Regions from separate parts of the Homo sapiens genome. Here all the other regions are linked to region 2. Evidence: promoter capture Hi-C in 16 types of primary human blood cells and fetal thymus (Javierre and others, 2016). All regions are on one chromosome and are shown on one strand. Each heading gives the region's core, a stretch centred on a gene start or on the middle of the fragment in contact. The rest is flanking DNA. Distances are from core to core; before and after follow the strand shown. Region 1 holds the start of SDHAF3 (succinate dehydrogenase complex assembly factor 3). Region 2 holds the start of SEC61G (SEC61 translocon subunit gamma). Region 3 holds the start of RP9 (RP9 pre-mRNA splicing factor). Region 4 has its middle 2.1 kb from the start of BBS9.

Region 1 (2,885 bases), core at 103-2,602, about 42 Mb before region 2:
CCCAGTTACCAAGCCTACTAGGTCAACTAACACATTTTTTATTTATGCAGTTCTTTTTTATACCCTCTCTCTCTCCTACAACCTATTATCAATTTTTTCTGAGTTGCTACTCTTTCCTACTTTTTCCCAAAGAGGCTTCCATGTGCTTACATTTTAAGACTTCTTAAAATAACCTTATTTCCTCCCAACAGAGAGCTACTCTCCTTCCTGTACGGCCACAAAATGACCTACCATAAAAGATGTAAAATACTTTAATACAGTATCTTATAGCTTCATAACAATTAGCAATACACAAGTGCTTGTAAATACATTTACATACGTAAATTTTGAGATGCATAAACACTTATTATTTTATAGATGAGAAAATAAGACTAGAAAAATTATGTGATCTGACACTTAAAATGTCAGAGACTGAATCTGAATCCAGTTCTTCAGGCTCCAAAACCAAATTACCTTATTAAAATAAAGTGCTCTGTGTCTGAAAAGCTTCAACTTCCCTGCTTCAGGCAAGCGAATTACATCAAATACACCATGATTTTCAAGAAAGTTCTAAATTTCCCGATTGTTCTAAATGTCGCTCTTAAAAGCTTCAATAATTATACAAAAAAGAATTCTGGAAGTCAGTGCAAAGTTTGTGTTCACCCTAACCATTCTTTTGATTTTTTTTTACAAAGCCGACTTCAGTCATCTCCCCTTCAACTATTTAGGCCGAAGAACCGCTTACCTCTATTTTCATATCAGCTCCAACTCATGCTTTCAAATATCTGAGCTGTCATTCCAATCTCTAATTCCATTCATTTATTTATATTTGCAAATGAAAACTAGGGGCAATCCTGCAGGGCCCCGAGCCCCACGAAATACTCTGAATATCTTTTTTCCTTTACTCAAAAAAAAAAAAAAAAAGTCAAACGACTTATTGCTAATGCATGTGTCTGTTTAATATTTAGCGCAATGGTGCAGGGCGAAGTAACAATGACTTGAGACCGGAGGAAACAACTTTCGCCTGACTTAACTGCCACCAGCATTTTTCTCCTTCACAGTTTGTAATCTCCAACCTTTTGTAATCTTTTTCATGTTACCTGATTTCTGTATCAGCCAAGTGAGAAAATTATTTAAACCCAACCAAAAGCGCTGAGATTAAATAATAAATTACGGAAATAAGCCTTTAAATTTGAAAACTAATAAGAGAACCATTAATTTATTAATGGGCGCTTACTAGGTGCAAAGGCACTTAAAAGGACAAAAAGCTCCTGAGGTTTTTGAGCACTTAACGACGACTTGCTCATTTTTGTGACCTCCTACCCTCACCCTTTGAGCACCTGGCATCTGCAGGAGCTCAAAAGTTGAACTGAATTGGGGACGCTGAAGTAACAGGATCTGCTCTAGTGAGAAACCCGTGGGAGAAACTTTGGAAAGTGTTACCTGAACAGCATTACGCTATTTCAAACAGAACAGGTTGCTGCTCTGTTTAACCCCGCATGGGGGACTGGAACTAGAAACCTGGACACCGAGGAACCCCAAAGGTCTTGGGCAAAGAGAAGGGAGCGTCACTTGCCTCCCATTCTTGCAAGAAACGCTGTGCCTCGTCAGAACCAACGGTCTTATGTCTCCTAAATTCGTCTTTCACGTACTGGTCGCCCAGGGATTTGAGGTCCGGGGGCAGAACACGGTGCAGCTGCAAGACGCGCTTGTACAATGCCCGGACTCGAGAAACGTGCCGCCCCGGCATAGCGCCCCACGCCGACCGCCGACTGCGCCTGCGCAGAGGGACGGCGCGTTCCCGCACTTCTGCGAACTTGCGTATTAGTGAACCGGAAGGCAGACGAAAGAGGGCGCGCGACCTCTATCCGGTTTGGTCCCTTGCACAATCAGGTCCTCCCGGAAACCCAAGCTCCGCTGCGGGCGGAAAACGGGTCGGTCCTTCTCTAGGAGGGGCGTGGCCCTCGTGGAGTCGCGCCTGCGCCTCGTCGTGGCTTCTTCTGGCCTGCGTCCTGACGACACAGGCCTTGAAAGAGAGAGGTCTGTGGTGGGCCGTTGTCATTTCTCAGTCCCACTCCACTGTCTTTTTCATTCAACTTCGTTTCTGTCCTCCTACCAAAGGCCTGAGAAAAGCTTCGTTAAGATCGGGCTCCTCCGGGATTCCTTCCATGGTTCCCAACCCATTTGAGGCATTTAGAGTATTACTGCACCCTGCTTTAGGGATCAGAGTGAGATTAATCTCGCCATCCACTAGCTCACCAACCCACGCTCTTTGCACAGCGCTGTTCTCCCAATTTATACTCTGGGCATGGGCTCTTCCTTGCAAACAACCCAAGTGAGCCCAGAGCTGGCGGACTCCTTAGCCAAAGTCAAGTTGGCTGCTGAAGGATCCTTGGGAAGAGTTTTAAACGTATTGTTTCCAGGACCACGACCCTGGAGATTCTGGTTAAATAGTCTAGGATAATAAGAACGAGGAATCTAGAAATTTACAAAGCTCTATCTTTTGCGAAGGTAATACTGAGAGTAGAACTGGTTTCCAAAGCTGGCAGCTCCTTGTGTTGTCCTTTCCTGTCACACGTTTGGTTCTTCAGCAAATCCTGATGGCGTCACCAACAAAAATGCAGAAATCAACCATTTCGCCCCATGTACTCTACCACAATCTCTCTCCACTGGATATTGTGTTAGCTTCCATATCTGTGTTCAGCTTCTGGTCATGACCAACTTTGGTCATGCTCCAACATAATTTAAATTAAATTTGGCCTAAAATTTCCTCCCTACTCTGAGTTGCTATGTAGGGAACTGCAACCTAACTTAGTATGTAAATTAACTGCAACTGAGAGTATATTCTTGTGACAAGTAGCTGAGCTTCAGCCAATCACAGGCTGCCAACTGATCAGACTATGTGC
Region 2 (2,942 bases), core at 396-2,895:
GACTAATTTTTGTATTTTTAGTGGAGACGGGGTTTCTCCACGTTGGTCTGGCTGGTCTCAAACTCCCGAAATCAGGTGAGTAGACAATTATAACAATACACTGTAATGAAAGTTATTTGAATGTGGCCTCTCCCAGATTACCTTCTGGTACACATCTCTTTTTGAACCAGATTTTCTTGGATAAGGGGAACCACTGTATGTGTTACTTGATTTTCTGTGTTTTGCTGAAAATACTGTCAACTCAGACATTTGGTGGTTGGGGTGAACTTGCCAACATGTGATTTTATGTTTTTTTGGAATGAATTATTTTTTTGAAAATTATTTATTGAGCATTTACTGTGTTTAGCACTTTACTAGATGCTATATTATACCCACTTGGAGCTTATGGTCTAGTAAGGGGATTTACAGTGTAGGGAGACAGACCGAGGAATAAATAAATAAATGTTAATACAAATGCTATGCAGCAAATGAAGAAGGTATTGTGAAAAAGGAAAAAAGAGCATGAGATAGACAGGATTGCCTTAGATGGTCACTATAGGCCTCTAAGGAGATGACACATGGGCTGAAGTCCCAGGGATGAAGAACTAGTCAAACGCATCTCAGTCTGTTCAGAATTTAAAAGTGACTCTTAAAGCTAAGGCAAGGTATGTGTAGTGTGTATGGACCACCTACAGTCAGATATACGGAGGTGTGTGACCTCTAACCCTGACCCACTGAATCAATATCTGGAGGTTCTGGGGTTACAAATTTCATTTACTAAAAAACTTAACAGGAGATTTCAGTTACTGAAGAAGTTTAAGAAGCACTGAGAGTTGTAACACGTCTTAATGTTCCATCAGCTCTTCCTGAGTTATATTGTTCCTCAGATCCCGTTATGCTCCATTGCTAAAAGGAAACATGGCCGGGCGCGGTGGCTCACGTCTGTAATCCCAGCACTTTGGGAGGCCGAGGCGGGTGGATCGCGAGGTCAGGAGTTCAAGACCAGCCTGGCCAATATGGTGAAACCCCGTCTCTACTGACGGTTTCAGCCATCCGGCGGGGGGTTCCTGGAATGCATCCTTGTGGGTAAGTGGGGAGCTGTGTGTACATTATGACCACTCCCGTAACCAAACCTAGCGTTTGACAAAGGCCTCAATTACAGCGGCATTCATTACCGTGAATGACAGCCAAAGTCAAAGTTTGGGGTGGGGATACTATTTTGAATTAGGCCATAACATTATATTGCTCATAAGCTTCATTTCGACCAACATTATATACATACAAAAAGTATGTACCGTAAGGACACACATCAAGCTGGACCGCAGGAAAAAAAACCACAACTTAGGATTTACCTAGTCAGCCGCTACTAGAGAGCAAGCACCGCGCAAGGCCGCTGGGGCTCGTGCTGTGGACGTGAGTGGGTTGAGGTCGGGCTGGTGGGGTAACCCGGGATCCAGCCGGAAAAAAGGGATAACGCTAGACTCACACTCCTAAGGAAGGCCAACGCCCCAACTAGCGAGCTCCGCAATGCATCTCTTCCAGGAAGCGTGGCCGGGCGCACGTCGCGCTGCGCTTGCGCACTGAGGTTTCGCGTAAGGAACCAATAGGACGGAGGAGTGGGCGGGCTGTTGGCAGAAACCCGGATTCCGGTTCCGGTGGGCCTCCATCAGCAAGCTCCAGTGCTACGTGTCCCTGGCATTTTAGGTGTCGGTTGGGTAGGTGAGTTTCTTCCCACCGGTCGGTACGGGCGAACGGGGCGGCCACACCTTTGCGACTCTTGGGGGCAGCGGGCGTGGGCGAGCCGGCGTGTCTCCCCGGGCGGCCGTCGCGGGGCGGGCGGTAAGTGGTCCCCTGGCTCAGGGCCGGGGTCTGGCCGCCGACATCCCACCAACTCGGCCTCTGGCGGAAGGCAGACCCAGGGCCGCGGACTCCCGGCGAGCTGGGTGGCCGGCCCGCGGGGCTCCAGGGCTTAGCGTCCTGCCCCGGCGTCTTCTGTGCTGCAGCCAAAGATGATGTCCTGCTGCCCGATCCCTTCGGGGTTGGCTCTGTGTGCTGTTGTGGAGTCCTGTCTGGGAAGAGCTGTACTCAGCTCTGGTCCTGCCGCCGCTTCCGTGGTTTAAAGTGAGAGCATTGGTCTAGAGTCTAGTTCGAGAGATCATAGTTGGTTTTTGGATCTCTACCCCTGACATTGAGTGCGGTATTGTGTGTAGCGTGCGTTTTTCTGGATAAAGAATTCTTAGCTTCCTTCGTGACAACTATGATTACAAAAAGTTTAAGCCCTTTGGATTTCAAGAGCAAAGTTGAGTGAAATACTGAGAAAACAGACATTACTGTGTTTTTGCCCCCAGAACGTTGCAGAATTCCTGGTGTTTCATTGACATTATTTCATTTCGTTGTCCACACCCTACACTAAGGAAGGCAACTGGGGCTTACAGAGGTTTACATTCCATAGCCAGTGATTTGAACTACCACCTGGCCACTGTTCTGAGTACTGGAAATGGAGGAAAATACAAATAACACCCTGGCTGCTTTACTTACTATAGCAGTGGCTCTCAAAGCTAAGATCGGATAACATTTCTATTGGGTAATAGATTCCTCAAAAGAACCTGTATGGTAAAATATATAGCCCTGTTTCCTTAAAAGATGTGTTCAAATCGAAAAGTTTGAAATTTAGCTAGTAGCTTCTCAGAATTTGCGTCTTCCTTTAGCCATTCTTTATACTTTAGAAAAGTATGTTGTATTGGCACGTTTTAGAAAAATCAAGGTTGAAATTCACGTTTGCCTCTATTCTAGGCTCTTGCAGCACCGTAGTTGGCATTCACTGTACAAGACACTGGCTTCTGCGTAGTTTAAAATAAAATATGGAAAGTAATTGTTGGATCTCAACACTGATGGTTCCTTAGGAGCGGTGAGGGGACTGTAGAATGAGAAATGGATGGGACTGCAGAGTGAGAAAAGGAATG
Region 3 (3,026 bases), core at 29-2,528, about 22 Mb after region 2:
AATAAAAAACTTTAAAAAGTTAAAAAGAATTTTGGAAAGAGCAGTATCACATAGAAAATTAATGAGACTGTATCATCGAGGAGAGCCATGTCCTAAAAGAAAAAAAAAAAAGCTATTCATCATGATGCAAGACTTCAAAATATGTTAATCATCATAAAAGTTGGGCAGTTCATGTGGACAATCGCCATGCAATTGCCCATAATCTATCCCTGCAATACACTTTTTCTATGTTGAATTTTCTTTTTAGTTTGCTTTCGTTTTTCTATTTTCTCTTTTAGCTTTTTCATTATTGTAAATTGTCAGCATTATGTTTTACAATTCACTATGCTATGTATTACATCTTAACATCATTTCTAATACTGGAGGCATCAACTATATAAAGACTTTTAGAGAGTTCAAATTTGTTTTATGCATTTTTTGCAAATATGACTCAATCAAAGCTCATTATTACAATGGTGACTGTGTAAGCATTCTACATATATGCAAAAATGTAGAAATTTCCTCGATAAATAAATAAGTGTCTTTTCTGTACATCTGCATTTGTGAAAGATGAAATTTCTCAGGATCTTGGCTCCTCGGGTGACTGGCACAGTGGTGACGTCATGGTGACCCATCCTGTCAAAAGAGTTAGGTTGTCTCTCATGGTATATCAGATGACCGCAGTTATAAAGCTGGGTGCACACTATTACCGAACATAATTATATGTTTATACATTTCACTTTTTGAACACTTTTTTTTTTTTTTTTCTGAGAGACAATCTCGCTTTTTCGCCCAGACTGGAGTGCAGGGGCACCATCTCGGCTCACTGCAACCTCTGCCTCCTGGGTTCAAGCAATTCTCCTGCCTCAGCCACCCAAGTAGCTGGGACTACTGGCGCCCGCCACCACGCCTGGCTAATTTGAACATTTTTTTATGAATACATTTCATCTGCTCATCCCTATGTGACTGTTGCTAGTATACCTGAGGTGGGTGTGGCCGGGCGGGAACCTCCAGGCTCCCAACTAGCGCCTCGCCCCGCTTCGGCTCCAGCTAGGCGGCGCTCCCCACCCACCCGCAGCAGCCCGCCTGGCGGCTGGGCCCGAGACCCGGAGCCCCTGACTTGGGGCCCGACGCGGGGAGGCGGGGATCGGGTGGCCGAGGCTGAGACTTCGGGGCCGCCGGGGTGAGTTGCGGGGCGGCGGCGGGAGGGGGCGCTGCGAAGCCCCGCGACCGCCGCGCGGAGGAAGTGCTCTCTTGGCTGCCGCCGCCGCCGCCGCCGCCGCCGGAGCCGCGCCGCGGGGGTTGCCCGAGCGGCGCTGCGGGGGCTGACATGTCGTCCCGGCCTGGGCGCGAGGACGTGGGGGCTGCGGGCGCGCGGCGGCCGCGTGAGCCGCCGGAGCAGGAGCTGCAGCGACGTCGGGAGCAGAAGCGGCGGCGACACGACGCGCAGCAGCTGCAGCAGCTCAAGCACCTGGAGTCCTTGTGAGTCCCGAGCTGCCGTCCGCGCGCGGCCAGTCTTCTGAAGCCAGGGGCCCGGGGCGCGGGACGCCGCGGTGGGCGCTAGGCCGGGTCCTCCGAGCCCCCGCGAGCAGGCAGGGGGGCTGGGCCCGGCAGGAGCCTGGTGCGGGCGACCGATGTCGGGCGCCGCGGTCAAGGACTTGAAGTCCATCCTCCTGGCGGGGCGTTCAGGGAGCCAACTGCCGCTCGGCACCAAGCAGAATCTGACTTGGGAGGCCCTGCGCTTCCCTAGCTCCAGGGGGTTCCAGGAGAGTCCAAATGACCCGGGAGAGTGTGGTGTAAAGAAGATTCAAATGTAGGGGAAGGAAATATGGTTTCCCTCTACCCTTCTAAGTTCTTAAGCTGGGCCACAAATTAAATTGTCATAAGACAGATTAACAGGAGAAAAACTTTTAATTATGTACCCGTGCACTAGAGGGCCACAAAAGTGGGAGACAAAGAAGGGCCAGGGAATAGGGGCGTGGGCCTTTTGGGGCGTGGTGGAGACCTTTTGGAAGGGTGATGGGGGAAATGTATGGTGAATAAAGGTTGCTTTGTTATCCCGATGAGGCGCTCAGGCGATAAAAGTTGCCCCCAAGCAGCTGTCTTCCTGATACAGATACATTTACTACAGAAAATTTCCTTTATAGGTGTAAATTTCTGTTTACAACAGGCGAGTCGAAAAATAATAAGAACAAAAGGAAAAAAAGCAGTCATACTTTATTTTAGGCAGTTGAGGGGTAGCTGAATAAGTTATCCTGTGTTGTTTGGTTCTGTTACTTATAGCTCAAAGTCATCAATATGCCAGGGTGGCATGTTTGGGGATGGTGCATTCTTGTCTTTTGCAGTCATTTATCAGGGTGGCGTTTCCTAAATTCTAACACAGACCTCGAGTGGAAAGTTCAGGCAGCAACTCTTTCAGTTCTTGTCCGTGATTCTATAATTAGCTGCATAAAACAACCTTTTCTAAGTGTGGCATTCACTCAGTTATTCAAGAATTCGTTTCTGTTTTAGCCACTTCTAGTTACCTGTGCTAAGTAGGTGTTAAGTATAGCCTAACGCTGCCTCCTTGAATATTTTAAGTTTAGCCTAAAAGTTTCTCTGTACTTAGTGAACTGTAACCTAAGTAGATGTGTAAACAGACTGTAACCTACTGTTATAAGTACCTGAGTCTCAGACAATCACAGCAGCTGATTTTCAGGCCGTCACAGGTGGTCAGCCTTTGAAACCCTGTTCAAAGAAGGCAAACGCCAGGCTGTATGGAATCCAGCTATTTCTCTACCTCATTTGCTTTTCTGTACATCACTTTCCTTTTCCTGTCCATAAATGTTATCCCACCAGGTGGCAGCCTGAGAATTGCTCTGGACCTATTCTGGTTATGGGGGTGCCCTCTTTGAAAACAGTTCTTTGCTCAAGTAGAGTTTAATTTGTCTACTTTTAAAAAACATAATTCATATAAGAAAAGTTCCTCAAAGAATTAAAATCCTTTTTATAATTAACCTTCTGGGAGGTTTGATGTGAGATAAATTCCTATGTTGGGACCTGGCCTG
Region 4 (2,896 bases), core at 384-2,883, about 22 Mb after region 2:
AGCGCTGCTTTGAAGTTACTTGTGCCTGCGTCCTGATACACATGTGTTAAATATATTTTCCGTATATACCTTAGAGTGCATTTCCTGGTATATGGGATTGGATCTATGTCTTCTTTTGTTTTTTACTTATTTTTTTTTAATCTTTACATTCAAATTCAATGTAGCCAACCTTGAAGTTTTTCTTGTTTGCTTTTTTCAATGGATTCTAGTGTAGGCTTTAAATTTCCAGTATTTCACCATCAATCCACAAATCCACATTCCCAGTAGAAAATACCATTCTAGTTTTAGTTTTTTGGGTTTTGGGTTTTTTTTTTTTTTTTAACTGAGACTGGGTCTCCCTGACAGGGTCGCCTAGACTGGAGTGCAGTGACAGGATCACTGCTCACTGAAGCACTGAAGCCTCAGCCTCCCGGGCTCAAACGATTCTCCCACCTTAGCCTTCCTAGTAAGCTGGGACTACAGGCACAGACCACCACACCTGGCTAATTTTTGTATTTTTTGTAGAGATGGAGTTTCGCCATGTCCAGGTTGCTCTCGAACTCCTGGGTTCAAACGATCCACCCACCTCAGTCCCCCAAAGTGCTGGGATTGCTGGCGTGAGCCACCGCGTCCGGCCTCAATATTTTTAAAAATGACCTTTCAGTCAAAGCCTTGGTAATATAACCAGTTTCCAATTGTATTCTGCTATACAGAGAGAGCAGATTTTTATTAGACTTATTGAAATGACCATATTACCATAAGAAGACTCACAAATGGTTTTCTAATTATGGAGGAATCAAGTAAAGAGAAAAAAAGTTTTTATCTTTTTTTACACAAGTATACTCTATCAAATTGCTGTAAATTATAAATAGCTTAAAAGACAAGATTTTCTTAAATCTGGAAAAAACTATTTGAGTAAAGAACCAACAACATTTGAAATAATATCATAAAAACATTGTCTTCATTAGTTAAACTCACGTAATTAATTCTTGTTCTGCCTGATCTTGATTAATAGTTTCATGAACCCACTTTTTTATTACAGTTCTGGAAATTGTTATATTGTCCATTGATCTTCAAGTTGTTAGAAACCCAAATCTAAGAGTATATTTTAGGGCCAGGCACAATGGTTCATGCCGGTAATCCCAGCAATTTGGGAGGCCAAGGCGGGAGGATCATTTGAGGCCAGGAGTTGGAGAAAAGCCTGGCCAATATAGTGAAACCCCATCTCTACTAAAAATACAAAAAATTAACCCAGCGTGGTAGCGCATGCCTGTAATCCCAGCTACTCAGGAGGCTGAGGCATGAGAATCACTGGAACCAGGGAGGCAGAGGTTGCAATGAACCAGGATCGTGCCACTGCACCCCAGCCTGGGCATCAGAGCAAGATTGTCTCAAAAATAAATAAATAAAAATAAAAGAGTACTTGTTAGAATATTTTCCAGGAGTCTGTTTTTTAAAAAAGAATTCAAAACAATAATATGGATGACAAAAACTTAAAATAGCCATGGTTAAAAATCTGATGAAGTTAACAACTGAGAAGAACATTTATTTATTGCTATTATATACAGTATTTTAAGATAACCAGAATTATGACTGGTAATATAATACATTTGTACGAATTTTTTTTAAAGATGGGGTCTTGCTCTATTGCCCAGGCTAGAGTGCAGTGGCACATTCATAGCTGACTGCAATCTCAAACTCCTGGACTCAAGCAATCCTTCTGCCTCAGCCTCTCAAGTAGCTGGGACTACACGTTTGTACCACCATGCTTGGTTTTTTTTTGGTTTTTTTTGTTTTTGTTTTGTTTTGTTTTGTTTTAATAGAGACAGGGTCTTGTTTTGTTGCCCAAGCTGGACACAAATTCCTGGCTATAAGTAATCCTCTGACCTCAGCCTCCCAAAGTGTTGGGATTATAGGCATGAGCCATCATTCCCAGCATACTTGTATGGACTTATATAATTTTTCAAACATTCATATAAACAATATTCCCATAAATGCAAATAAAAGAAAAATCTAGTATCAGTTATCGTTTGACAATATTTCTTATAAAATTTACCAAATAACCCAAATCATTTAATACCTCTAAAAGATGAGAAAGATATGTTTTAATGCTTTCCAGGAGTCCAACTGGAAAATTCCAAAGTTAATTCTACATTTAAAAAACTTAAATTGGAATTTGATTTTGAGGAAGTTTTTAAAGGGCTCAAAACACTGTATCAATACAGAATCACAAGTTACTTGTGAAATAAGTCATTTATATAACCAGAGTGATAATCAAAAGGCTTAAAAAGCCATACAAATAATTACATTAAAACTATCTTAACCATTTTAAACTTCAGGTTAAAAAAAAATCAAATCTAATAAAAGCAACACAGGAAATTATGTTGATAAAATGTATAATCTTCCTTAGGCCAGGTACCAAAAAAGTAAAGAAAAACTTTCTGCAATGTGATTGTTTCTCCTTTTGGGGAGCTCATTTAGATAACCTGGAGGTCGAATCTGATGAAAAGGGTACTTGAATTTAATCAGATACAGGAAGATGTGTCCCAGGTCATGATTATAACAATTCACATGTATCAAGAAAAGCCAAGAGTACAGAATCAAGTTATATTGAAAAAGAGCATTGATTTCTAGGCCTTCAGGATAAACCTTTAGTGTCAGGCCATACCAGCAATTAGAACCAAAAAAAAAAAATTGTATAGCAACTGATGAAAAAATTGAAGGAGAGAGTTACCATCCCAGGCTTTCTAAAGAGGAGAAAACCTGAATGCAATGATATATGACCTGGAAATCAAATAGCAAGACATGGCAAATTTGAACCACTGAGATACGAAATCTGAGAAATTTCAAAAGCAAAACTCTACCTCAAGAAATGATATTACCAGACGGGTGCAATGTCCATAATCCAAGCACTTTG

Evidence for each region. The method cuts DNA at HindIII sites, captures the fragments that hold promoters and counts their contacts. A CHiCAGO score of 5 or more calls a contact.
Region 1: a fragment that was not itself captured here is called in contact with the fragment with the promoter of SEC61G in region 2 in 1 of 17 cell types (fetal thymus); the score reaches 7.9 in fetal thymus.
Region 3: a contact is called between the fragment with the promoter of RP9 here and the fragment with the promoter of SEC61G in region 2, in 1 of 17 cell types (activated CD4 T cells). The highest score is 5.8, in activated CD4 T cells.
Region 4: a contact is called between a fragment that was not itself captured here and the fragment with the promoter of SEC61G in region 2, in 1 of 17 cell types (monocytes). The highest score is 5.4, in monocytes.

What each region holds. Positions count from the first base shown.
Region 1 is chr7:97,116,568-97,119,452 of GRCh38, reverse strand. It overlaps SDHAF3 (succinate dehydrogenase complex assembly factor 3), which reads right to left and starts at 1,755. Exons shown (of 2, transcript NM_020186.3): 1 at 1,556-1,755. The coding sequence starts at 1,729. RefSeq lists enhancers at 1,578-1,667, 2,018-2,097. The HindIII fragment of the contact is 1,525 bases long and covers 590-2,114 here.
Region 2 is chr7:54,757,914-54,760,855 of GRCh38, reverse strand. It overlaps SEC61G (SEC61 translocon subunit gamma), which reads left to right and starts at 1,645. Exons shown (of 4, transcript NM_014302.4): 1 at 1,645-1,698. SEC61G-DT (SEC61G divergent transcript) reads right to left here and starts at 1,543. Exons shown (of 3, transcript NR_110040.1): 1 at 1,332-1,543. RefSeq lists an enhancer at 507-1,442 and a silencer at 1,676-1,995. The HindIII fragment of the contact is 2,422 bases long and covers 1,235-2,942 here.
Region 3 is chr7:33,107,656-33,110,681 of GRCh38, reverse strand. It overlaps RP9 (RP9 pre-mRNA splicing factor), which reads left to right and starts at 1,278. Exons shown (of 6, transcript NM_203288.2): 1 at 1,278-1,461. The coding sequence starts at 1,310. RefSeq lists silencers at 903-1,382, 1,393-1,622. The HindIII fragment of the contact is 9,627 bases long and covers 1-3,026 here.
Region 4 is chr7:33,126,045-33,128,940 of GRCh38, reverse strand. No RefSeq gene overlaps it. Among named protein-coding and RNA genes, the nearest start is that of BBS9, 2.1 kb to the left of the region's middle. The HindIII fragment of the contact is 3,349 bases long and covers 1-2,896 here.